Linked DNA regions of Homo sapiens: regions 1, 3, 4 and 5 are each linked to region 2. Evidence: promoter capture Hi-C in 16 types of primary human blood cells and fetal thymus (Javierre and others, 2016). All regions are on one chromosome and are shown on one strand. Each heading gives the region's core, a stretch centred on a gene start or on the middle of the fragment in contact. The rest is flanking DNA. Distances are from core to core; before and after follow the strand shown.

Region 1 (5,707 bases), core at 1,749-4,248, 630 kb after region 2:
ATGATCTCCTGGGGCGGGTGGGGGTGGTCTGCATTATGATAATTAGCAAACTGTTTTGTTACTGTGGATTTTGCTAACAGTTCCATTTTTAAAGTACTTCTTATCTTCATACAATTTTGATTATTTGTGAATACTTTTATAGAAATCATTAAGGAAAATTGACTTGGGGAAAAGTATATTTCTCAGACTGTCTTGACATTAGTGACTTTTGATTGTGGAAAAACTATTGAACACAAGATGGCAGTATACCGTTAACTCTGAAAACAAGACAAGGAATGGATTTTTGACTCTAGTAAAGATTAACATCAGGCCGCGCACAGTGGCTCATGCCTGTAATCCCAGTATTTTGGGAGGCCAAGGCAGGACGATCACCTGAGCTCACGAGTTTGAGATCAGCCTGACCAACATGGAGAAACCCCATCTCTACTAAAAATACAAAGTTAGCCGGGCATGGTGGCGCATGACTGTAATCCCAGCTACTAGGGAGGCTGAGGCAGGAGAATCGCTTGAACCCGGGAGGCAGAGGTTGTGGTGAGCCAAGATGGCACCACTGCACTCCAGCCTGGGCAACAAGAGGAAAACTCCATCTCAAAGGAAAAAAAAGATTAACATCAAACTGATACAGGTGGACAAGACTTGGAAAGGGCACATTCTCTCTAGTATTCTGTAGACCCATTATTAAGGCCTCTCATAAGGGTATGTCTGTCTTCATTTAAAAGGCCTCTGTGGAATGAGATTTCTCTTGGCTCCACTACTTCTCTGGCCCTGTAACCACCTTCACTGGAAATGGTGAAATGAAAGAAATTCTGGAGTTGATTTAGTTCAGTCTCGTCTTTTTCTGTATCAGAATGCCAGGTACTAGAGAGGTTAAGTAATTTGCTTAAACAGCAAATAAGCGACAGACCTGATTGGTTCTAGGTCCCATGACTTCCAAACTGGTACTCCTTCCATTATACCAGAATTTCTCTATAACACATTTGAAACTCAAGCCAGCTTCCCTTTCTCCAGTAAAATATTTAATATTCATTTGTTTTTCTTAGAGAAATAAGCATATAGAAAAATAAAAATTAAAAAATATAAATATCCATCTTTTACCTAAATGACACTTCATTTATTAAAAGTACACTACAGAGGCCAGGTGTGGTGACTCATACCTGTAATTTCAGCCCTCTGGAAGGCCAAGGTATGTGAATCATTTAAGGCCAGCAGTTCAAGACCAGCTTGGCCAACATGGTGAAGCTGCATCACTACTAAAAATACAAGAAATTAGCTGGGCATGGTGGCCTGTGCCTGTAATTCCAGCTGTTCGGGAGGCTGAGGCATGAGAACCACTTGAACCTGGGAGGCAGAGGTTGCACTGAGCAGAGATTATACCGCTGCACTCCAGCTTCGCCAACAGTGAGACTCCATCTCAAAAAAGAAAAAAAGTATACAACCCCCAAAGTCATGAGTGTGTGTGGGTTGGGGAGGGCGGAGGGGGGGTGGGCATCTTCTGAACACATAGAAATTTTTTTTTAATAAAAACAGGTCTCACTGACATAGGACTCTTCAGAAGTTCCTACTTCTTAGCATGTAGAGAGGAGGAGGGGATTGATATCCTATTGGCATCACAAGAGAAGATCTCTTACCTGTCTAGACTGAGACCAATAATTGTTAGTCAAAAAGTTAGCTGAAGCTGGAAATCACAAAATGTTACACATATATAGCTTAAACATTTTATTTTAACTTTATAAATTCATTCATTTTTCATCTGGAGAGACCAAGGTCTTTCCATTGAAGCAGTTCTGCAGATTGGAGATGACTGTAGACTTTCTGGCACTTTCATTGTACATTATCCACAGTTTATACTGCTAGTTTTTCTTTAAAGAGGGATTCTAAAGATAGTCACAAGGCAATTTGAGTGCAGAATTTTTCCAGATTTGTGCGGTTTTTTTCCTATTAGAGTAGTCTGTACCTAATTTGAAAGCAGTTTATGTCTCAACTTAATGTTCCTTGAAGCAGTTTTATTGTTGAAGTCATATTTCACTGGTTTTTATAACATTTATATAAATTATGTTGCTGTAATCACAAAACAACTGTGATAAACAAGTTGGAAAGAAAAAAAACTAGCTTATGTTAAAAACAAAACTCAGCTGCTGGGAGAAGAACCAGCCACTGCATATGCAGTGGACCCTGGCCATGTTTAACCAGGTAAAGGAGAGCATTCCTTAATCCTTCAAGGCAATTCAGACAGTTTGTACTGCAGACTAATTAACATGATCTGTAAGCCAGGGGATCAATAATGTTACTGTTTTTATCATAATCAAATCTTATACAATAGTTGGGTAAAGCATAGTTCTTAATTCAGTTACCTATAACCTTGAAGAATCAGATTTCTAAAAATTTCTATAGGATGGTATATACTTTTACCTTCATAATGTAATTAACAAGTTATTTGTGTTCATGAATCAGGTGAAGAAAATTGAGATTTTGTTTCTAATGAGCTCTAATAATAATATAAGAACACTTGACCATAATTTGACTATAGTAAAATTTTTTAACATTTTCCGAAGTCATGTAGACAAATTTTCTGAGTATTTCTAATGAGTTTGCAGGAAGGAAATAAAGTTAGTAGAGTGAGTCTACTATTATCATTAAATTAAACTTAGATACTTTCTAACACACTCAGTTATTTTTCCTTCTAATAAATAAGTAAAATGTCAGAATTTCATCCATAATATCTTGTGGTCAAACAGTGGTTATTATGAAAGACTACTTTAGAAGTCTTAAGTATAACTAATAAAGCAGAGACTTTTAATATATTTGACTTTGTCAGTCTGACAGTGTTATATACTAGCATTTGAATATAGTTACATATTCTACATTTCAGAAGCTACACTCTAAGAGATAGAATGCCTCACAGGAAGATAGCTCATAGATACAACCTTCCTGTTTGCACTAGTTCATGATAAGATGTTTGCAATTATGATATTCTCAAGTAGCATTTTGGAAATGACTTTATTATGACATTTTAAATAACTTTTAAGAAAAAATCTAATTTATAGTTTGATCCTTTGTACAGTTAAACTCTTAAGAACGTGAAAAGGAATGCACACAGAAAGGTTGCATGTAACTCTCTAGTGTTATTTTAATTCATCCATGTAAATGCATTCTTGATTTTTCTCTTCCTTTCTCTACTTAGATTAGATGACTTATGAGAAAGGATAGATGTAAGAGTTAAGCAGCATAAGAAGTGGGGGGATAGAAGAATTTGGGTGTCTTAAGAATGTTTAAGAAAGTAGAAGTATCAAGCAGTAGTTGGTTGTATGTTGGTTTTTTTAAAACTTTGTTTCATTTATAGACTCTGTATTTATCTGAAATGTGTAGATCTCCCTTTCCATTCCACAGTGACATTGAAGATCCGTACCTTAGGTTATCTTTGGTTTTAACTTTGGTATGATTTATGAAATAAAATTATTTTCTGAAAGTTTCTGTATCTTAACATCAGTATTTGATGAATATGTTTAAAAGATAAAACTTGGAAAATCTTGGTATTTAAAATTATCACTGTTTAGAAACTTATAGTTTTGAGTTAGTCAATCTTAGAAATGAATACCATGCTTGGTTCTCTTTATTTTAGAATCCAGCAAGCTAAAGTGCAAATTCTTCCCGAATGTGTGTTGCCTTCAACCATGTCTGCAGTTCAATTAGAATCCCTCAATAAGTGCCAGATATTTCCTTCAAAACCTGTCTCAAGAGAAGACCAATGTTCATATAAATGGTGGCAGAAATACCAGAAGGTGAGAAACTAATTTTTTATGCATCTTCAAAAAATGAAGACAGGTTGTTTTTTTTCCTGTTTTAAGAAAGAAACACAACTTTCATGATTCATTACCCAGCCACCTTGTATGGCAATATTCCAGCTACATTTGATCCTCTAAAAATTGCACAGGCAGCTACTTTATGTAAAAGCAGTTTACAAAAGCAATAAAATGTCACACAGCTGTAAGGTATCCTTGTTATTATGCTTATCAGCTATATTAATCGCTTTTGATTTTTAATTCCATGGGAAATGCTTATTAAACTATGATCAAATTAGATGTTCGGCTCTTGAGTTATAAACATCCATTATCTTAAAGAAGGGAGGATTCTTTTGGGGTAGAGTAGTAGTAGAGAAGTAGAGTCTGTTTTCCTTCTTCCAAACCAGAGAGAAAGGTTTCTTTTGCTATGTGTTTTAATGAAATACAGTTGACATCGCAGAAATTGACTTGAGACTAGGTGCTCTTTAAAAATGTTGCTTGTTTGGGCACTAATTCCTATGTTATATCCTTTGACTAAATCATAATTGTCATAGGAAAAAAAAATTGAGGGAGCCTGTTTCTACTCGTTTGTGAGATGTGCAATTTTAAGTATAGTTAATATTTATAATTGCTACCTAAAGAAAAAGATTACTAGTTTCTAAATTTAGAATAATTGGGCTTTTTGAGTTTTTTTTTTTAATATGGAAAGACAGTTTCCACTGTAACCTTAAAAATTCTCTATTAATCATTCCTTTGTTGAGTGGTGAGGATTTAATATTTTAATGTAAATACAGAATCCTAATTTAATGTAAATTATTATGGATAATTAATGAAGTGGACTTATATACTAGTCACTGTACCGAATTTTTATTGTTCTTGCAGTAGAATTCCTCCAGTTTTCAGTGAAAACTTGTGCAGAATGGGCACTTGATGGGCATCAGGGTTATAACCAGGTATCTATAAGACTTCCTGGTCTTTATCTCAGTTAACTGATCTGTTTCATGGTACAGTGTGTTTTGACTAGTGTTTCTAAGGAAGATTCTAATAAGGAAGATATAATTAGACTGCTTTAAGACTCCCAAACAACCTTGAAACTAGTATTTTTTAACGTTTAGTAATATTGATACTGCCTTTAGTTAACAGGCAGCTTTTGTGTAGCTGTATTAGTCCATTTTCACGCTGCCGATAAAGACATAACCAAGACTGAGCAATTTACAAAAAAAGAGGTTTATTGGACTTAAAGTTCCACATGGCTGGGGAGGCCTCACAATCATGGCAGAAGGTTGAAAGTCAAGGAAGAGCAAGTCACGTCTTACATAGATGGCAGCAGGGAAAAAGAACTTGTACAGGAAAACTCCCATTTTTAAAACCATCAGATCTCATGAGACTCATTCACTATCACAAGAACAGCACAGGAAAGACCTGCCCCCATAATTCAGTCACCTCCCACTGAGTTCCTCCCATGACATGTGGGAATTGTGGGAGTTACAATTCAAGATGAGATTTGAGTGGGGACACAGCCAGATCATATCACCGTGCAATACTTTCTTCCCCATACCAGATACAGACACTTTAAATACATGTTTACCCTTGTTTCTTTTAACTGAACTGTGAGAAATTTTGCTCCCATAGTCATTTTAAATGTTACTGTTGAAATAAGTATGTCAGTGATCACTGTCAGTATGTGGCCCCCAAGGAGTAGATTTGGAATATATTAAGTCATTTAGTGCCTAAAAGTATGTTTGGCACTGGTTTGCTACTGAAATACGTGGCAAGGTAACTGCATCAAGTTGTTCCCTATGTGTCATCTGAATATTCACGTAGTGATGTATTTCATACTAGAGATTTTTTTTCAGGGGGTACAGGCATACCACGGAGATATTGCAGGTTCAGTTTCAAACTGCTGCAATAAAACAAGTATCACAATA
Region 2 (5,662 bases), core at 1,220-3,719:
GAGGGGTCAATTCAGAAATCACTTCAAGCCGCCAGAAGTGGGTTAAAGTTACTGTCTGCTTCACACAAACCTTTTCCTAACTAGCTTAGAATATCCAGCTTGAATATTGCACGAATATATACAGCCAGGTAAAGAGCAAGCAGCACTTTGAGCTTTCAATACAATAGCACTTAAAGAATTTGGCTCCTGAATAAAGGTGTCAGCAAACCATGGAATTCCCAAACAGAAAAACTCACACTGCGTCTTTATTCTCTTTTCTTAAGGTCTATTGTTAACTGAAGACTCCTTGTCTTTTCAAATTCCTTCATGTGAATGGATGAGGCCAGACATCTGCCAGGATCCGCTCACATTTGCATGCAAATCAGAGACTTCGGGACACATATGGCCCTGGAGCCAATAACACTTTTACTCTAGATTTATACTGATCAAAGTGCCTTCCTGAACTTTCCACTCCTCCAGCCCTAGCTTTTAAAAATGAAATAATGAGCCTATTCCACTAACATGATTTAGATTGTCATGGCAAGACAAAACAAAACATGTTGTCTTTTAGAAAATCCTCCACGCAAAAGCCAGAGTCGGCAGCACCTGTTCCCTCACCCAATTAGAATTCCACTTTTCCTTTACGATTTAGGTTTGGGAATGAAAATACTTACGGCGGGATGGGATTTAGACTCTTAGCCTTTGCCTGTGAGCTTCAAGTGCTTCAGAACCATTTGTACCCCGGCCAGTCGTTCACTCACGGCCAGGCTCTGTTCTTGGCGCTGGGGCCGCGGCGGTGGACACGGCAAGCGAGGTCCCCTTCTCCTGGATCCGGCATCCGGGCCGAAGCGCCTGGTCCGCGTTTCCGCGCGGGCTCCCCTGGAACCGTCCCGGGACACGCGGCCCTCTCGCTGCTGGACTTTTCCCCGAGCCCCAGCTTGCCAGGCAGGGACTCCCTGGGCGGGCGGCGGGGAAGCGCCGAGTCGGCGGCCGCCCACACCCCTCTCCACGCAGCACAAAGGACACTCGCCGGCAAACTTTCCTCGCTTCTGACCCGGGCCGAGCCGGGAACTCAGCGCCAGCTCTGTTCCTGGCGGGGCTGAGGCTTCCCTCACATTCCAGGCCACCTGGCAAACGTCCTGAGGCTGCCACTCCTTCTGGGCTCAAGGCTCACGGGCTGAGGTCTGTCCCCGCGTGGAGCTCAAGGCTCACGGGCTGAGGTCTGTCCCCGCGTGGAGCTCAAGGCTCACGGGCTGAGGTCTGTCCCCGCGTGGAGCTCAAGGCTCACGGGCTGAGGTCTGTCCCCGCGTGGAGCTCAAGGCTCACGGGCTGAGGTCTGTCCCCGCGTGGAGCTCAAGGCTCACGGGCTGAGGTCTGTCCCCGCGTGGACCGCCGAGAGTTCGGTAGATCCTTCCCAAGGCTCTGACTTCAATACTTTCAGTGCCTTGTCAATTATACCCCTTGCCCCTTTCTCTTACCAAGGCCACCGCCAAGACACCCTTTTTCTTTCCTCTCCCCGTCGCCCGCCACCTTCCTTGCCCTCCTCTTGGCCCTCTTTCCAGCTCCCTGGGCCCCCTTTCCGCGCTGCTCTCCAGCCCCAGCTGCCTTCCCCGGTTCACATCCCGGCAGCCCTCCTCCCTCCCCGTCCCCGGGCACCTCCCTCCCCTGGTCGGCCCCTGAAATCCAGCAGGCTCGGCTCCGGTCACTGCCTTTTTTTGCCTGTTTCTATCTGGCCTGCCTTCCCAACTATCGCTCTCCCACACCTTTTTTTTTTTTTTTTTGGCAAGGGGGACGGGGGGAAACGGGGCACTATATTCTCGTTTCCCGACTTCGTCATTTTCCCCAGCTCCGTGAGCCGCGCCCCCTCGTCCCCCTCAGGCCCGCGATCTTACCCTGAGGTTCCCCAGACCCCGTAGGGTCTCCCACGCCACCAAGTTTGCCTCGACTTCCCCTCGCTGCCTCCCACACCTCCTGCCGCGGCGCGGCCGGCCAGGGACTTACCCCGAGGCCCAGCTGGTGGGGGTGTTGGGGTGCGCGCGGACCCGGCACCCACGGCGGCGGCGGCGGCAGCAGCAGCAGGAGGAGGAGAAAGACGAGGAGGAGGAGGAGGACTAGCTGAGCGGCGCCTCCTTCCCAGCCCGCAGCGCGCACTGGCTCCTTGGGGCACCCCCGGGAGAGCACCAAGACCGGAGACTAGGCGGCGACACAGGCAACCGCTGCTGCACGGGGCTGGGCTCAGTCGGCTCTCAGAGGCCAGGGCAGGGGGAGGCAGGACTGGGAAGGAGGGTCGGAGAAGTGGGGTGCAGAGGGCGGGGCAGCGAGCGGCCAGGTCCGGAGGAAGGCGCCCCAGGCGCCTAGGGATGCCGCCGCCCGGGCTGACGCCGTCGGCCCCTCTCCCCGCCAGGCGGGCGCTTGCAGCCGCGGGCGCACGGGCCTCGCCTCGTTCACCGGCTCGTTGCCGGCGCCCGCGGTGCGCCCCGCTTTGTGCTCCCCGCAGCCGGCGTGCACCTGGTGTAAGCAAAGGCGGTCAGCTGATGGGCCGCGCGCGGATTGGCTGCTCCGCCGTCTCCTCCCCTCCCGCCCGACCCTCTTCGCGGCCTCCCGCCCCCGCCCTCGGCGCGGCCCCGTGCTGGGCACCATCTGTGGACCGCCCAACAAAGGCGCAGCGCGGCGGGGCTCGGGTGGCCGGGCCGCGGTCGCCGCTTTTTGTCTAGGGGACGGCAGGCTGCGGCTGGGCAGGGAGGCGAAGCGCACTGCCGGTTTTTAGCAAAAGACAGACCAAAAGAAAATACACGTCCGTGCTAGGAGGCCAGCTAGGCACAATGGGGCCCCATCTCTTTGCGGCGTAGAACTCGGGCTCGGGGGCTGAGAACCAGACACAGTTCGGCCTGGGGCTGTGGGAGCCAAGTTTCGGGGTGAAATCCGACCCTGCGTCTTAAAATACAGGGCGCGTCCTCGGGCTGTGTGTGCGCGCCCGGGGGCGTCCTCCGCAGACCTGGCCCGGGCCGGTGTCCCTGCCGCGGGAAGGAGGATTCGGACGCTTAACTCAGCGGCGAAGTCGCTTCCCATTGGAGGAGGCTTTCCGAAAACGTTTCTGAAACTTTGAAATTACAGCTTTCTGATTTGTGAGGGGTGGAAGTTGTGTTTAAACAGGCGGCGAGGGACTGAGAAGGCAGTGTTAAGTGGAGGTGTCTCCGAGGAAGGGGAGGAGGGTGGGGACGGAATAGGTCTTCGGAAACTGCGCGTGAACCTGCGTCTCAGCTTCAAAGTCGCCAGCCGGAAGCAGGGCTTCAGAAAAGCCTTGGCACCCTTTATTGGGGGAATCGGCTTTAAGCGAAAGCATCATTAGCCCCTCAGTACTGAACAACTTCTGGCAGAGGAACGTGGTGACATTTCATTATGATGTCTAAACTTAGAACTTCTGGAGAATTTGGAAGGATACATTATTCGAGAATCATCCTTTGGATTCTTCAAAGCCACAGGATACATTCAATGTCAGTAACCATATTCTTGATCCCTGTAACATTTATTGGCGTTTCGCTTAGGTCTCTGATAAATGTTTGACGTCTTTGTGTGTCTTCACACTTTGTTATCCTGAAACTGTGTCATGTAGACATAAATGGTCACAGTTTGTCTTAAAAGTCTTTAGGAAAAGGTGATACTAGCACTTGGGCTAGAAGGTCGTGCAGAGCAGAGGAAGAAAAAGGCCCACTGCTGTCTACAAATGAATGGGAAGATTTAAGATCTTTCAAAGCAAGTTGAGTCTAGACCCTTGCCCAAGTTTTGTAACATGATTTTGTCTCTTTCCCCCCTTTTCATGCAGATTATCCATGGAGTTAGCATGCAGATAGCATGGAGTTTGTCTGATAGAAGTTGGGCTCTGGTGGAAGTACGGAAATTGAATGGTCAGGGAAAGATAGAATGCAGGTTTCTTAGGGAGTCTCTATTAGGTTTCCAGCCTGCCTTCCTGGGAGTGGAAGAGAGATGAGGTTGTGCCCTTCAAGGAGGAGCTTTACAGAGGTAGGTCTTGGAGGAGCAGTCGGAGCAATTAATGATGGTGAGAGTTGCTCTTGGGAGGCCAGATCTAGAACAGCCTCCAGGTTTTGGAAGAGACTTCATGAGAATGGTGTGAGTCAGGGACCAAGGTGTGAATTTTGAAACCAGGCCAACACTGCTTAGGTCCCAGCCCTGCAATTTATGAGCTGTGTCCCTAATGGCAAGTCACTTTATCTCTTTAAGGCTTAATTTCCTTGGCTCTAAAGTAGGGTTAATATCAGTACTTATCCCAAAGGATTGTGATGGTTAAGTGGGAGTAAACATGTAAAATGCTTAGGACAGTGCTTAGTATATAGTAAGCATTCAACGACAGATGTAAGCTCTAGGCATTATTAGGCAGGTATTGAAGACTAAAACAAGACATCAATTCAGACAGGTGGGATAATGATTCCGCATGTGACAGAATATCTCAAAGGCACTAGCTGCTCCAGTGGAGGAAATGGACTCTGTCTCTCCACTGTTCGATTCATTTCTTTTCAAATTAGCATATCATTTATTTAAACTAATTTCCCTCTTCCCCAAGGCAAGAGTGAGAAAGGCAGCTTTTCCCATTTCTACTTGACCACTGCATGCATTTGGTTCCAGACAGAGAGAAGAGCATTATCATTAGGAAGAAATGTGTGTCAGGGATGGGGGAAGGAATTTGGGTGAGAGGATGGGGCTTGCTGTGGACAGAAGAGGAAAAATGAGCATGACAATTATGAAAGAGTCTGAAATGTGGTGTAATTATTAGAAATTTGCTGAATTGCCTGAATTGGTAATTGGTCCAAATTTTAGAAATTACCCTTTTTTAACTCTGCAAAGGGGTTTCGGGACTGTCTTGTTAACTGACACTTAAAAGCTCCTTGTCATTGGGATGGATGAAGAGGAAACACGCATTTTTGCATCATTGGACGAAGAGGAATCAATGAACCAGCATAACCAAATCTCTTACTTGCTTCTTGCTTAAAGAGCTCAAATCCATCTGAATTACTCCTAATGAGCTCACCCAGTCCTGGGATCCTGAATTTATTAGTTAGTAAAAAAGCACTTAATAGTTATTTATTAAGGTGTGGTAGAAGACCTTGGAATTTTTGAAGGAGAACGGAATTGGAGACAAGAGCCCAAGAGTTCCCAGGAGAGCAAGGTCTTATTGTTGATGTAAAGAGTTCTTGCCCCTCGATTGGCTGTGTTGAGACACTACAAACCCCTCTGGATTCCCCTACCAGCCCCTTGAGGTTCTTTAGCTTTGGTTTGAAGGAACATTATCATTGGTGTTAGCCTAATTGTACTGATCTATGTGGTAAATGAGGAAAAAAAAGAAAGATGAAACTTCAGAAGACAGTCGTATTTGAATAATCTTTAGAAGAACATCTGTATTTTGAAAAGAAAATTATCATATGCCTCTTAAAACTGCAATTTTTCAAAGTTGAAAATATGTCTCTCTCTAATTGAAATATTAATAGAGTACCGGTAGTCAGAGTTCTTTCCAATTTCTGAACTGAAATTATGATTTTAAAACAACCACCACCAAGCTCTTAGAGGGTGATGACTGTAGCTTAAAATTTTGTGACTATTGTGATCATTGTTAACTTTCATACCAAATGTATTGTTTCTCTAAGAATTTTTGACAATGAGTGGGTTTACT
Region 3 (5,478 bases), core at 676-3,175, 590 kb after region 2:
ATGCATTTCAACAATATGCAAATTAGGCAGTGCCATTGTACGGTAATTATGTTTTCTTAATGTTTCCACAACAGCTCTGCCTTTGCCAGACTTCAATATTTTAGCAGCATAATGGTCACTTTGGAAGGGATTAGCACCCATTATATTTAGAGAAGGAAGGAAAACCTTGGAAAATCAAATTCAGATAATGCAGAGAGAATATACTTTCCATTGCTAATTTGTTTCACAGTTACCTTAAGGGAGAAAAACAGACTTCTATCTCCAGGGAAAAAAAAATGGATAAAATGCAAAAGAATTAATTATAAACATCCTGAAATGCAAAATCCTGAAGTTCTAAAACTATACTTAAAAATCTTCACAGGACCATTGGATCCTCAGGCTGAATGGATTTCAGGGTAGCTGCGACTCGTCAAAGTGTGTGCCACAGGATGTAAGTTCTGAGCCATGTTAATAGATGCTGTCTTTCAGAAATATGCTGTTTTTGTCAAGTAAATTTGAAAAATGCACTAGATTAAACAAAGTTAGCCAAGTTTCAGTCCCTATAGGACCTCTCCTGAATATACCAATGTTCAAGGATTGTCCTCCAAAGCCAGATAGATAAAGGACACAGCATTCCCAAATGGAACCCTATTTTCACAGTGATTTTTTTAAGATATGGGTGTTTTAAGAAAAACTCGTTAGGGAACATTGGCTACATCAATCCCTAGTGTTATAATAATAATAAAACTGTAGCCCAAGAAATTAAAGAGACTATTCTGAAGTCACCCAGATAGCTAAAGGTTGGACTAGAAATACAATTTCAGCACTCTGATTCCCGGCACAGCTCTCTGCTACCTCTTGCATATTCACTGGCTGGTAATTCAGTAGAAGCTCATGTGATAATCTATACATTTCCACTTTTTAGAAAATTCCATAATTTTTCTATAGGGAACAACAGATCTGTCATATACTAGCTTATGCTTTTCTTATTCTAAGTGGATTTTACAGTTTAGAAAATTCCAAGTAATCTTGACACATCATTATTACCCAAACAATTACTTCCAAGTCATTGTTTAAATAGATGAAACCCATTACAACAGAGGTCTCAGACCTTCTTGCCTCAGGGGCCAGAGAGATGACATAACTGAAATAGCTCAGCTTTAGCCAGCAATTGCTTAATGGAAATGTGGGATCTTTGTTGCTAGCTCTGATTTAAAAAAGACAGAAAGAAAGAAAGCCAGGTAGGGCATGGTGGCTCATGCCTGTATTCCCAGCACTTTGGAAACACTTTTGGAAGGCCAAGGCGGGCAGATCACCTGTGGTCAGGAGTTCGAGACCAGCCTGGCCAACACGGCGAAATCCCATCTCTACTAAAAATACAAAAATTAGCCGGGCATGGTGGCATGTGCCTATAATCCCAGCTACTCGGGAGCCTGAGACAGGAGAATCGCTTGAACCCAGGAGGCAGAGGGAGGTTGTGGTGAGCCAACATCGTGACACTGCACTTCAGCCTGGGCAACAGAGCAAGATTCTATCTCAAAAAAAAAAAAAAAAAAAGGAAGAAAGCCAGAAATGTATGTTTTTATATGAAACTTACAATTTTACATGTTGGCAAGTAGTTTATATTTAAAAATATAGTAAATTGCTGACCAACAAAATATACCTGCAGGCAGAATTCAACCTGTAGGCTGCCAGTTTCCAGCTTCTTCTTTACATTTTGGAATCAGTCCAGGTCTCTCCCTTGGCTCTGTGCTTATGCAGAGGTATGTCAAAGACTCTGGGTATCCCCTGGACAGAGTCAGACAATGAATAGACCAGCTGTTTCCAGCACCCAGCTTCCATTTTCGATTAAAACCAAATGATGCAAAAGAAAGTGGAAAGCCAGAGATAGGTCAGAGATAAAGAGAGGGAGATATCTCAGTTAAGATCCTGGCTGTCTGCCACTCAACTTGTATCTCTTTTTCTAGTTAATTTTATTTTTTTAATAGACTTTATTTTTTGGAGCAGTTTTAGGTTCCCAGCAAAACCGAGTGGAAAGTACAGGAAGTTCCCATATACCTGCAAGCCCCCAACACACAGCCTCCCTAACTATCAACATCCCCACCAGTGTGGTACATTTGTTATAATCAACAAACCTACTTTGATACATCGTTATCATCCAAAGTCTGTAAGTTTGCGTTAGGGTTCATTCTTGGTGTCGTACATTCTTTGGGTTTTGGCAAACATAGAATCACATGTATCCACCATCATAGTATTATACAGGGTATTTTTGCCGCCCAAAAAACTCTCTGTGCTCTACCTATTCATTCCTCCCTCCCCTCAAACCCTGACAACCACAGATCTTTTTACTGTATCCAGTTTTGTCTTTTGCAGAATGTCATATAGTTGGAATCCTATAGTATTTAGCTTTTTCAAATTGGCTTCTTTTACTTAGTAATATTTACAGTTTCTCCATGTCTTTTCATGGCTTGATAGCTCATTTCTTTTTAGCAATGAATAATATTCCATTAACTGAATATACTTACAGTTTATTTATCCATTTACCTACTAAAGGAAATCTTGGTTTCTTCTAAGTTACAGCAATTATGACTGTAGCTGCCATAAACATTTGTGTGCGGGTTTTTGTGTAGACATAAATTTTCAACTCATTTGGGTAAATTTCAAGGAACAAATTGCTAGATCGTATGTTAAGAGTATATTTAGTTTTGTGAGGAAATGACAAACTGCCTTCCAAACTGGCTGTACCATTTTGCATTCCCACTAACAATGAATGAGAGTTCCTGTTGCTCCACAACTTTTATCTCTTTTAATGCCTGATATAACTTACTTACTCTCAGCTTACTGATGGATATGCATTACTCACCAAACAAGCTGGCAGGTGAAGATTCTGCTTCAGGGGCCTGGGTCTCAGAATACCTGAGTAAGGCAAGCTCTTCTTCTGTTCTTTGTGTATTTGGTTAATTTTCAAAGTTGGACATCTCAAGACAAAGCAGTTTGTCTCACAAGTCTGGCCATGAGACTAGGCTCTCCTGAGTCATCTCTCCAAATTTTGGTTGTGAGAAATCCTTTTCTTGTTACGCTTCTGGGAGGAAGTTGGGCAGCATATATTATTAAATATTGTCCCCTTGGAGTTTTAAAATAGCCCAACCTCTAGTCTGAGAGCTGATAAATTGAGCCGAATAGAGATCTGGATAAAATTAGAAGTCCCTAAAACCTGGATGGTGGCAGACTTTACTTTTTAATTTCTATAACCATTTTCTTACACTGCTGAGCTCAATATGAGGGCAGAAGACAACTTTATTTTCCTCTGTTACTTGTTCAAATTTATGGCATGAATGAAATCTTGGTCAGATCTTAGAACTTTCAGGGGTCACTTTCAGATAATTACAAAAACTCCCCATCATTTTCTGTTCCCGAAACAGTCTCAATTCAAGGAATTTGCAATAATTCAAACTCTTACCTGACTGTAGAGATTTTCAGCCTCCAGCTTAGTGATGCTTTTAGCTCTTTTTAGCTTTGCTGAAGTCTATAGAGAGGGTAGGGAGCTTCTGGGTCTCCTGGTCCTCATTAGCTGGGTTCACCCCTCCAAGCTGGAACCAGAAGGTGATAGGCAGGTGAAAAGGGCATAATTTTATGTAGCTGGTGATGCCATGATTTGGAGGATGTTTTAAAACTGCCTGTTTCTCTTTGGGGCATTTGTTTCCCTCTGGTTGTGAGGCTTTTGTGTGTTTCTCAGAGATTTCCCTCCTACGAACCTTCAACTGCACTTTGGGGACATCTCTCTTGGACCAGTTGCATAGGGTTCCCTCCCTTAGGCTCTGGAGTCAGATCTCAGGGGTTTGTATTGTCAATTTACCCATACCTCAGTGTCCACACCCAGGAAATAAGGATGATAATAGAATCTAACCCACAGGGCTCTGAGGATTTAAGGAAATGATCAATGTAAGTTGTTTACAACAAAGCTTGGTATGTAATAAGACCTCATAATATATTTTGTTATTATTAGGCCATGTATCAATATTTTGAAGGGAGTTTCTGGAAGATTAAGTTACCAAAGGCACAATTTTAGAGTCAGATAAGGAGGGAAAGATGGGAAATAACTACAAATAATTATGGCATAAAAAATAAGAAATATGTTCCAAAGTTATATGTGATGCCATAGTAAAACAGACACTGGGTTCACCTTCAGAAGACCTGGGTTCTAGTCCTGACTCTGTCCCCAACTGCTGCATGTTCTTGAAAATGTAACAGAACCTCTCTGTTCTACAACTTATGGTTTCAAGTCCATCTCTTAATTTGGCTGGTTTAATATTGGCTAAATCACTTAAATTCTCTAAACCTTAGTTTCTTCATCTTTAAAAGGGAATGATCAGCCCAGCCCCCACAGGATTCCAGTAGTGATCAAGTGGGAGAGTATATAAATGAGCATAAACTCTAAATCATTAATTCATTCGCTCAGCAAACATTTCTTGACATTTATTGACCAATCACATGTCCCAGATACTATCAAACTGTAAACCATTGCTAACATCACCATTAAGGAACTGGGTAAACTCTAGTACTTCTTCCAGTTTTAAAATTATTGGAATCAAATAATAAAGGAGGACTCCTTCCTCCCCTTGTCCATGAATGGTTTGCACCTGCCAGCTAGAGAAACAGCTAAGGCAGCTCTGTGCAATAGAACTTTCTGTGGTGATGGAAATACTCCAAATTCACGCTAACTAAAACAGCAGCCACCAGGCACACATGGCTATCCAGTGCTTGAAATGTAGCTAGTGTCACTGGGGAACTGGATATTTTATTTTATTTTGAATATTTTATATTTAAGCACACTCATCTAGTGGCTACCATATTGGACAGTACAGAACTCTAAGACCTTAAGCAAAGGGTGGTGCAGGCAGAAAAGGGAAATGCAGACCATGAAGTCTAATTCAAGAGATATGTTTGCCACTTGGTAGAAGCATACGTTTGACTGTAGATATTTGGTGTTACTGTTTTTCATTATTGAACCCTGGAACTTAGGTCATTGTGATTCATCTGGAAGAGACTTGCCCACTGCCTTTACCTAAAATGGGATGGGGAAAATCCTCAAGACCTCTGTTCTTACAGGGTATAATTTATGTTTCATGAACGATGAAGAATCGAGGATTTATTAGAAATTTTCTACTCATTGGTTTTTAAAACAGGCATGAGTTAAGAGGCATTAAATGCAAACAAATGCATTTCCTCCTAAGTGCTCCATTGATGGAAATATAAGAGTGAATGATTTAGAAAACATATATTCAGAGCCTCTAATTCTGCAATTTCTATAAATCAGACATTGCTAAATGTTGGGAATTCACACACTGAGAAGAACATTGGCATGACTTTATGAAAACATAACTAAGGCTGGGAGCGGTGGCTCATGCCTGTAATCCCAGCACTTTGGGAGGCCGAGGTGGGCAGATCACCTGAGGTCAGGAGTTCAAGACCAGCCTGGCTAACATGGTGAAACCCCGT
Region 4 (5,035 bases), core at 999-3,498, 610 kb after region 2:
CAACCCAAACCCAAACCAACTTAAGACAGTGCTGACGCTGTATAAGTAATACAGTATCCTTCCAGAAAGTTGTGGGAACCCCTTGGTCTATGCCTGCACAGTCTCAGTAGAAGCTTTGCAATATTGTCAAAGCATTGGTTGGCTGCCAGACTTCTTGAAACAATATAAAATGAAAGTGTATAGCAAACTCTAATAATGCCCTAATTTTTGTTTATGAAAACCAAGTTTTAGTTATTCATATTTTAAATTTGTATTAATAAAAAAATCTTTAGTTGCACATCAAAATGAAAGTCCACAGGCTTGTCTTCAGTCCCCAAAGAAAAGACTTAACATTCAGGGATACATTTGTATCTATCCAGGAGGACCCCTTGTAGAGTACAGTGGCCTCATAGCCCTACCCTGAGAAACACTGAGACCAACATCCACTCCCTATCTCCCAGACCCCTTGATGTCTCGTCCCTGGCGTCTGTCTTGGGGGAAGCTGAGCAGTGTCACATAGGACTGAAAGAAGCAAGAATAGGACCACAAATCTAAAGCAAGAGGAAGAATCTGGAGGTTGACCCAGGCAATGGTGGAAGAAGGACCAAGTGAATAGGTCAAAAGTTAAGGAACACACAGTGAGTTAAGATATGAAGAGGACTAAATTCACAAAGCTGTAGAAAAAAATGAAAGCTGATTGAGACCTGGAAAATCATTTATACTGAACCTGTGTTTTCAAAGGGAGAAAGTGACTTGTGATCGCAAAAAATAGGGATAATAGCACCAACCTCTCAAGATGGCTGTAAAGTTCAATGAAGGAACATATGCAAAACACAGATATTGATTTTGGATTAGAGTAAGTGTTTAACAAGTGTTTGTTCATTCATGAGTGACAGAACCTGAACTAAGTCTTCTAATTTAGAAGCAAGTACTCTGTCAGGCTACCAGAAATCCCAAGTATGTAGGAGATTCATAATAAAACAATGGTAACCTTTAGAGCCTGATACTGGGCCTAAGCTATGGTCTATTTACAGGGATCCTGTTCAGACAGGAATGGATCTCAGGTCCAGGATGTGACTCCATCCAGTAAAGTTAAAGTCATTTGCTATGTGGTATACTCTTATAACATAAAGTTCTTATAGACAGCACTTGCCACATTGGGATGTATACTATTATTTGTATATGTGTGTCTTAGCTACTAGTATGACCTCTTTGGAAGAAAACATACCTCCTTTTAATTTTTTTATAATGAAAGTAATTACTTATAATTATGTTTATTTATAATTTCTTATAATTATGATGTCTTAGAAAAATAGAAAGCTTTTAGAAGCCAGTAGAGAAAAAACTCCTAGTATCCAGAAGTACCCACTGTTTCAAAGTATTTATTTTGGTGTGCATTATTCTGTCTGTGCATTTCTTTTTAACGTATATATACACAGATGCAATAAGCATACAACTTGCTGAGAAAAAAAACAGCTTTTGTCTAAGCATGCACCTCTGTGGACTAAATTGGATCTAAGCCCCAGTAACAAGTGGACAGGGAAGACATGCGTGAGTGTGTGTGTGTGTGTGTGTGTGTGTGTGTGTGTGTGTGTGTGTGTGTCTGTATGTCAGGGTTTTCAGTAATGAACAACAGAAACTGACTCTGGCTTACCAAAGCAGAGAAATCATTTATTGGAAAGATATCAGATAACTCACAAATTATTTTATCATTTAGCTTCTTTCTGTCTTGCATGTTTCAAATAATGTTGATATAAACATCTTTATGGATCAATTTTGTCTGCTTTTTGCATTATTTCCATGGGATAGATTTCTAGAAGTAAAAAATAAAGGTTAATCCTTTTAGATCATGAGATTTCCTATTTTGGATCCTTAATTTTTATTAATATCTTAGATACAAGTAATTTTTATGAAGGAAAATGAGTGATAAATCCTTTCAGTGTGTGTATATCCGAGATGCGTACACTATAAGGCCTACCAACTGCTCATTGCTCTGATTGTAGCTGTTGCTATGGGTACACGCAGAGAATTGATGACATCCCTGAAATTTAGTTGGTAGAGAAGCCTCCATGTTCTGCTGCTGCTGCCACCACACTAACTAGCCTGGTGTTCATGCTGAATCCAGCAGTTGAAGCAGTGTGGCTGAAATAAACCCTCTACTTAATCTTGCTTCTCTAAGATGATCCCTGCACTCCTTCACCAGCAACCACCATGGTTCATACTGTTTCTTTGGAGAAAAAACATATAATATATCCTACTTAACTAGATACCTGTTATGCTGTTTATATGTCTGCTTCCCAACCTCTACCCTCAAGCTGTAATCCAGCCCAGGGCAAAGGTTACATTTTAGTCATCTTTCTCCTCTGCTAGCTTATTAGCCTCATTCACCCAGGGTAATGGACTCTTCTGTTTTCTTTTCTGCTGTACCCCTCGTTCCTATAAAAAATACCCGGTGCATAGGAGACATATAGTGACTATGTTAATTAATTTGAGTTGAAGAATAGACAAGTAATTCAGAGTCTACAGTATTAGCATGGTTTTTGTCTCTGAACACACTGGAGTTTTGTTCTCATCTTGGTCTTGCAAGTCACTTTAGCTTTTTTCTGTCTTACGACTTTTCAGTTAGCTCCTCTACTGAAACACATTATTAGACTCTTATATCCATTTTTCTATTTTTCATTAATGAAAAGTCACATTGCTCATGCATCCATTAATAACTTCATATGCAATATCTTCCCCAATTAACACCTGGGATCTAAATTTTTCTGTTTCCTCATATACAAATGGTAAGCTAATGTCAGTTGCAGCAAAGGGTATATTTACTAGGATTTGGGGACCCAAATCCTCTTCATGCTATTGGGAATGATATTTATTCAGACTGGGATTTGACCTGTTTTTTGTCTCTCTTCTCAGTTTCTTTGTGAGTTGGTTAACTTTTTCATACAGTATAGGTCTTCTCAGTTACATGATTCTACTTACATCTGATTTTAATAATTGTGCTGGTCTGTTATTTTTAAGCGAGTTTCTTAAGTTATTCTGTTTCTGACCACTGAATAGCATCATAGCATTTTACAACTGTCCAGGGATTGTGAAACATTGGTCTTCCTCAAGTATAGAAGGGTGATGAAAGCCAAGAACATCATCCTCAGTAGTTCTTTCATTTGTTATACTTACGTTTCCATGTAAGATTTCCTCTGAGCAAATAATTTTGAAGCTTATATATGTGAATATATATGTGTATACATGTTTACATTTGTATGTATATATGCATATATCAACATATGTACACAGATATGAAAATCACAAAGTTAGTACCACCCTGTGGCAGACATTACAAATGTAACCAAGTTCCACTTCTTCTACACAGAGTATTAGACTACTCTGCTCCCTTGAAGTTAGACTGAGCCCTGGGATTCACCTTGGCCAGTGAAATATGAGTGAAGGTGATATGTTTCACTTCCAGACAGAAGCATTTAAGAGACAGTGTTCAATTCTCCAAGCTTTTTCCTTCAGCCATGGGCAATCTGCGATTATAGAAGCACATACTGATGTGAAGTTTCCACAAGACCAAAGCAGCCTTCGCTGGTGATCTGTCAACAGAGAACATGATGCCCTGGAGAGTCACCAAATCCATAGAACATTTGATTTGAGCAAAAAATACACCTCTGTTGGTTAAGCTGCTGAAATTTTTGTTACTGTAGCAAAACTTCACATATCCTGGCCTTTGTAAACCCTTATGTGCAAGACCAAGAATACAAGTCCAGGGAGGAAGACATTGAAATACCCCAACCAAAGTTACAGGTAGAAAAAAGGCAATGACTAGAATTGAGGTCTCCTCTCTCCCTGCTTTGTGTTCACCCCTCTGCAATATTCTGTACGCTTTTGCTTCCAGTGGAAACAGCACATAGTGTCAGGACAAGCTGTTGGGTGAGTCATGAACACAGTTTTGCACACAAGTTGAAAAACCATAAATTACCCAACATTTTACTTTCTTGCAAAAATCTTCCCTACTTTACCTGTCAAGTCAGAGATGGATGTAGTGGCAGGAAGTCTCAGTAAATTGCAACATTAAGTATCATCACAAATAATCATTTTTGGCAAATAATCCAACATGCCTGGGACTTGTATAGGCTCTGGTGTACCTGAAAATATTACTGTAGCAGGGAAAGTCGCATATAAAGGTATTTTTTTCAAATCCCAAATTATTCACCATATTACTGAAATATGAAACTGAATCATTAATAAAATTGTCAACATTTTGAAGGGGCTATGAAATACCCTTACTACCTCTGGTTTTCTGCCTGCTAACAGAGCAGGCTTCCCTGTTTTTCCTCTTTCTAGGTCTGCATAAAGCTGACAAGATCCATCTTTCATTCCCTCATAACTTTGGGATTTACAGGATAAGATGCTGCCATACACATTCTACAGCCATGGCTTCCAGCCCCTGCACTTGATGGTAAGAAGTAGACTTTTAAAAAAAATGCATTCCTGAATACGTTACTATTTGTCCTGATATATAGGTTGCCAAAAAAGTTTAAAAGATTTTTCCAGTGGGACAAGTTTAGGAAACTGTTTGTAGCCTCTGTAGACTGGGAACTTGAGAATTACCCTGATTTAATTCTAAAGACTTTTTAAGTTAGTGACAGCACGACTAACATAGTTCAAAGAAAGTTGATGAACATGATTCTCTGTGACTGAATCAGAGAGAGCTACAAAGGAGTTAAAGAGCCATAGTTATGATCCTTCATTGTCAAGGGAGGCTGAATATGACTGGGATTCCCCAGGCAGATAACGATGTCCACATAGCCCCATCACAGTGCTGCAAGCACCTCTGCCACTCTATATGTAGGACAATTTATTGTACAAACTGGCACACTTTGAAGAGTGGAATGGGGCAAGGGGTGGGGCTGGTCTGGTAGTTATGCTGATACACCAAACACATACCAGGGTTGTCCTGGGCAAATCCCAATGTGGGGTTGCTCTATCACTTGCTACACACTCATACATGTGGTTGCACACACAAATGCAGGCCAGATCAAGGCAGGTAACACACACA
Region 5 (5,552 bases), core at 2,350-4,849, 570 kb after region 2:
AAAGTTGGCTCTGCCTAAGCCCAAGAAAAATTAAGGCAGCTTGAAAGCTAAAGGCAGGAGATGGGTTGGCTAGATCAGATCTCCCCCACTGCCATGATTTTCTCACTGTTATAATTTTTGCAAAAGCCGTTTCAACATAATGAGAAAATCACTCCCTTACATTTTTTATACCCCCATCCTTTGAATACCACAAGGAGAACTTCTCATCCTCCATGTTAGCGTGCCTTCAACACATTGAATACTTTTTAGTCTCTCCAGTTTAATAAATAGAGCACAGACCTTAGGCTATGATGAGACTTCTGCAGCCAATACTATCTAGCTAGAATTTAATACTTTTGCTGTCCGTATATATATTTTTAATTACCTTCTAGTTAATGCTGAGCTTCCATTTATGAGAGTAGATTAAATGTTTCCTTTTAAAATAAATTTATTTCCATTTATAAAGGGAAATAGCTTTAAGAAATATTAAGTAAATAATAGAGCAGGTAGTATATAAATTATCAAAGTTCTTAAAATTAGTACACAATGATGAGAAAACACATCAACAGGGTACTGGGATGACTAAAAATTTGGGAAGTTCTCAGTTGAAATACATTAGAAGAGTCCTTCTAGAAGCCACTAAAAAAGAGTGAATATTACCCTTAAGTAAAAGTCCCAGCCCCAGCAGTACTCAAACAGGAGGGGCAATTTTATATGCCTGGGGGACTCTTGATGATGTCTGGAGCATATTGGTTGTCACTTTCTGGTGTGGGGAGGCAGGATGGAGGTAGGAGTTGTGCTGCCTGCATTTAGTGGTAGAGGCTACAGATGATGCTAAATATACTGCAGTGGACAGGACAACCCCCACAAGAAAGAATTTTCCAGCCCATGATGCCAATAGTGCCAAGCTGTAGAAACCCTGCTGTCTCCTGACTGTAAGTGCTGGAAGCGATCCACAGGCTGACACTCATCTTCTCTGAAGGCCAAGTTCCTATCTGACAAAGTTCATACATCACATTATAATTGGCAATTCTTGTTGGGCAATTTGCCCTTTGGTTGCAATTCCTACTTGTTTTAGACAAATGATTATATTGTAAAGTAGCTTCTATTTTAATTTATAATTCAGAGAGTATCCCAGCAGTGATTTGCAGTTCCGCCCCAGTCCTATTATTACCAGTTGTGAGGGCCTTTTGCTAACTTTTTTAAAATCATTTCATCTTTAAAAAGTGAACCTCATGTGGGTGGATCTGATCCAAGGATTTTGAGGGTTTTAATTTTAACTCTTTAAAATATTTCATTGCAGATTTTCTACAATTTTTTTCTCTTAGTTTATTCTATGCTTTTATTTTTAATCTATATTTTACTTTAAAAATTATTTATAGGCCAGGCGTCGTGGCTCACGGCTATAATCCCAGCATTTTGGAAGGCCAAGTTGGGAGGACTGCTTGAGCCCGGGAGTTCAAGACCAGCCTGGGAACATAGTAAACCCAATTTCTCCAAAAAATGCAAAAATTAGCCAAGCATGGTGGTGTGTGCCTGTAGTTCTAGCTACTCAGGAGGCTGAGGTGGGAGGATAGCTTGCCCCTGGGAGGCAGAGGTTCCAGTTAACCAAGATCACACCATTGCACTCCAGTGTGGGCAACAGAGCCAGATCCTGTCTCAAAAAAAAAAAAAAAAAAAAAAAAAAAATATATATATATATATATATATATATACACACACACACACACACACACACACACGCCTATATATGTATTTCTATAATGACATGCAATTGACCACATGCAATTAAGCAGGTGTGATGTCTGGATTCTGAGCCTCAATTCTTATTGTTGGAGAACGCACAGGCAGTTTGGTCTGAAATTCTACAAACTTTGGTCCATACCTAAAAACTGAATGTTCAGACTAATACATGAGTTTATTTTCTTGTCTTTTTCTCCCAAATATAAACTTCAGAAAGTAAACAGTAGTTTATTGAATACATCTATCACTGAAAAGAGAAAATTAGAGTTTTTCTATAATAAGCTTATGCTGTGTGTGGTAAGTAACACACTCAATGGAGAAGAATCACAAAACACTCAAGCAGAGAAGAATCAGGTAATTAAAGAATATTTGTTTGTTTTTTATCATAGAATTATTTAAGTAAGAGAGGGAAAAGTCTTGGAAGCACAAAAATATTTACTAATAGTTGACTGCTTACAAAATTAGCCCCATTCACAAACTCAGAGACTACTGTCTATGTTAGGTAGCACCTTATTGATTATTTGTCAATTCTGTGCTTCAACAATGAAAAGCAATTGTAGATCCAATAAGTCTTGCCCCCAAAATGCAGGATTTTGTAACACCTATGAAAGAGAGAGAAAGCTGCTCTAATTGAACATAAAACCATTTGACACATAAGGACCTGTAAAGTCAGATGGTTAACAATTAAGAGAAAAATAGACAAGAATGATTGCAAGATAAATGCTTCAGAGGGGAACGAGTTAAGTACCAAAGATGAAAGAGAGGCTCTTGGGAAAATTGATCAAGCCTTCAAACATTTTCATGGAAGTGCCCCTCTTGATTTCCACACTGTGAGAGTCAAACACGAAATAAAAGATATGGTATCTTCTACCACTGAAATTAGTCAGAAAAAAAATATGCTCGTCCAGAATCAATCACTGCTTGATTCATGCTGTGTTCATTCTGACATCTTATGCATAGTTGCGTTTATAACCTAAATGATGGTAAGTTTGGAATCAAATTTTGTAATTTTCTTCCCATTTTTTGAGAGAAAATTCCAATCAAACATTTCGCAATTTGGCATACATTTTTGGTCCCTATTTTAATTGCATTTCTTTTAAGTGGTCTTTTTCCAGTGGAGCATCACTTCCTGTGATGGGACAACTATCACTTCCGGGAATAGAAGCTCATAAAATGATAGAGTTGAATTTTCAGAAGCCATCGTGTTTATCACTCTTTTCCAAATAAAGAAATTAAGACTGAATGAGATCACTACCTGCCTGAAGGTTATAAACAAACTCTATGAAACATTTTAATGGAGTATAAAAATCACAATTTGGCTTATAATAAATAAAATAATTTCTAGACAACAAGGATGATTCTTTTGAAGACGGTGCTTCTAAATTTGAAATCTTTTCTTTTTGTAAGAACCACTACTACTTTTGCCATATTTTTGCCAGTCCCCTTCATGTTTTCAGTAAAAGGGTGAGAGACTAGGATTTGTGAATTCTGTATCTACCACTTCTCTGGAATTGTCATTCTCTGCTCATCCTACAAATCTGTTCCAGCTCAGTGTTTATTTTTATTTTCTCCTTCACTTACTGTAATCTGTGGTGGATCATTATGCAATTAATTTAAATTACCAACATATCATTCTAATAATCATTTTAACTACACTAAAGTGAATATGGTTCTGATTTAGCAGACACTTACTGTCTGGTATAGGAAACCGTGTAAATGTACCTGCTTTGGTCATGCTCCAAGGATGATGACAATATCATGTTCTAACTGTGCTTTTTTCTCCCCATTTCCACCCCACTCAGCATGTCTACCTCTCCAGTTGTCCCAGACTTCTCAAAATGGTGATCCATGACTCAGAAATGGCCTATAACATGTTTTCTTCCCAAACCTATGTGACTTTTAAAAATTTGAATTAGTGGCCAGCTTTGAAAATTGGATTGTTTACATAGAAATCCAGATTTCTGACATCTCTTGGAAAAAAAAAATAGCAGATCTTACAATAATTATTTGCAATCTGCACCAGTCAGCTAAGGCCTGGTAACAACCAAACCCTTTTTGCCCAGCACCCACTTTGAAGTTTGCCTAAGTCCCATCAAGCTCTGTTGTTCCCTGAAAAGATAAAATGTTGATTGTTATTTTGTATTTGTGCTAGTCTTCTTACAGTGTAATTAAGGTGAAATATTTCTTGTATTCATGTCCCTGGAGAAAGTAGGAGAACCAAAAAGACAGGGAGGGCTGTGTGTTTCACAGTAAATGGGAGATAGCCCTCTTACACTCATTTGTTTCACCCAAGGATACTGTGAGTACTACAGTTGGCACTATCTGATTCAGTCTATTGCTTCAATGCCATTTAGTGTCTGTATTAGTCAGGGTTCTCCAGAGAAACAGAACCAATAGGTTATTTTATATATATATATATATATACACATACATACACACACACACACATATATATATACACATATATATATGCACACATATATATATGTACACATATATATATGCACACATATATATGTATATAGTGTGTATATGTATATATCTGTGTGTATGTGTACACATATAGGTACACATATAGGTATATATATGTACCTATATCTCCATCCCTATCTATCTATATGGAGAGGGGGAGGATTTATTATAAGTGATTGGCTCATGTGATTATGGAGGCTAAGAAATCCCAAGAGCTGCTGTCTGCAAGCTGTAAGCTGAGGAAAGCCAGTGGTATAGTTCCAGTCCTGAGTCTGAAGACTTGAGAATTGGAGAGCTGATGGTGTAAGTTCAAGTTCAATCTGAAGACCTGAGAACCAGGAGTGTTGACAGCAGGAAAAGATCGATATCCCTCTAACAGTAAGAGAGAATAAATGAGTCCTCCATTCCTCCATGTATTTGTTCTATTTAGGCCCCCAACAGATTGGATGAGGCTGCCCACATAGGGGAGGGCTAGCTACTGAGTCCACTGTTCAAATGCCAATCTCTTCTAGAAGCACCCTCACAGACACATCAAGAAATTATGTCTGACCAGCTATCTGGGCATCTTGTCGCCCAGTCTAGTCAACATGCAAAATTAACCATCCCAGTTATCTTGTAGTAGGGATGAAGAATATGAATCAATACATGAATTAATGCAGAAAATAGATATGCTTCACCTACCAAGGTGGTGTGTCATCAGGGATATTCCACCAATGTTGGGGAAGTGCACACCACAAATCTTAAAACCAGAAGATTTTCCCCCTAGACTACTGTATATATAATTGTCAGACTGTTTATTTGCAGTCTCATGACCTTAAACCCAGAGAATTTGGGGACCTGCCAGAAATGAAAAGAAGGAAAGGCAACACAAGTATCTCTCTTACATTTAGAGCTTAAGAATTATCCTGGATATATTTACTTATTTTCAACTTCCTTCCCTCCTCCTTTTATATGCTCATCATGAGGAGGCTTCATGCTATCTTAACCTGATTTAAGCTTAAATGGAAACATTTGCCTCTTTGATCATGATAAGAACAAACTAGTACCTTCTTCCTCTTCCCAAGTAAAGAAATCTTTAGAATGTGTGAAACTGTTGACAGTAAGTCCCAATTCCCTGAAGACAGACTGATCATTTACTTAGCATTCTACCTTGGGGGCTACACTGAAGATCTCAGAGGTCAAGTCCCAAATCAAAACTTGAGTGGAATATTTTAAAATACAGCCAGTAACCAAGAGAGTTAAAAGCTCTTTGGCATGTTTATATCTGACCTTCATCTATTAACCTCAAGGAAAGGTAATGAAACTTGCATTCACGAGAGATGGTATTATCTACTTCAGGATAATCTATTTAATGAATG

What was found. Contacts are between HindIII fragments. The CHiCAGO score rates a contact against its expected background, and 5 or more counts as called.
Region 1: a contact is called between a fragment that was not itself captured here and the fragment with the promoter of LRRN1 in region 2, in 1 of 17 cell types (M2 macrophages). The highest score is 5.6, in M2 macrophages.
Region 3: a fragment that was not itself captured here is called in contact with the fragment with the promoter of LRRN1 in region 2 in 3 of 17 cell types (M2 macrophages, M1 macrophages and M0 macrophages); the score reaches 10.2 in M2 macrophages.
Region 4: a contact is called between a fragment that was not itself captured here and the fragment with the promoter of LRRN1 in region 2, in 2 of 17 cell types (M2 macrophages and M0 macrophages). The highest score is 7.1, in M2 macrophages.
Region 5: a contact is called between a fragment that was not itself captured here and the fragment with the promoter of LRRN1 in region 2, in 1 of 17 cell types (M2 macrophages). The highest score is 5.9, in M2 macrophages.

The regions. Positions count from the first base shown.
Region 1 is chr3:3,165,706-3,171,412 of GRCh38, reverse strand. It overlaps CRBN (cereblon), which reads left to right. Exons shown (of 11, transcript NM_016302.4): 5 at 3,620-3,779. Among named protein-coding and RNA genes, the nearest start is that of CRBN, 11 kb to the left of the region's middle. The HindIII fragment of the contact is 8,322 bases long and covers 1-5,707 here.
Region 2 is chr3:3,796,238-3,801,899 of GRCh38, reverse strand. LRRN1 (leucine rich repeat neuronal 1) reads right to left here and starts at 2,469. Exons shown (of 2, transcript NM_020873.7): 1 at 1,981-2,469. LOC100130207 (a long non-coding RNA gene) reads left to right here and starts at 1,025. Exons shown (of 6, transcript NR_149025.1): 1 at 1,025-1,199. RefSeq lists silencers at 2,149-2,258, 2,399-2,488, 2,499-2,568. The HindIII fragment of the contact is 7,976 bases long and covers 1-5,662 here.
Region 3 is chr3:3,205,558-3,211,035 of GRCh38, reverse strand. No RefSeq gene overlaps it. Among named protein-coding and RNA genes, the nearest start is that of CRBN, 29 kb to the right of the region's middle. The HindIII fragment of the contact is 4,036 bases long and covers 1-3,943 here.
Region 4 is chr3:3,183,995-3,189,029 of GRCh38, reverse strand. No RefSeq gene overlaps it. Among named protein-coding and RNA genes, the nearest start is that of CRBN, 6.8 kb to the right of the region's middle. The HindIII fragment of the contact is 1,894 bases long and covers 1,302-3,195 here.
Region 5 is chr3:3,223,194-3,228,745 of GRCh38, reverse strand. No RefSeq gene overlaps it. Among named protein-coding and RNA genes, the nearest start is that of CRBN, 46 kb to the right of the region's middle. The HindIII fragment of the contact is 3,186 bases long and covers 2,007-5,192 here.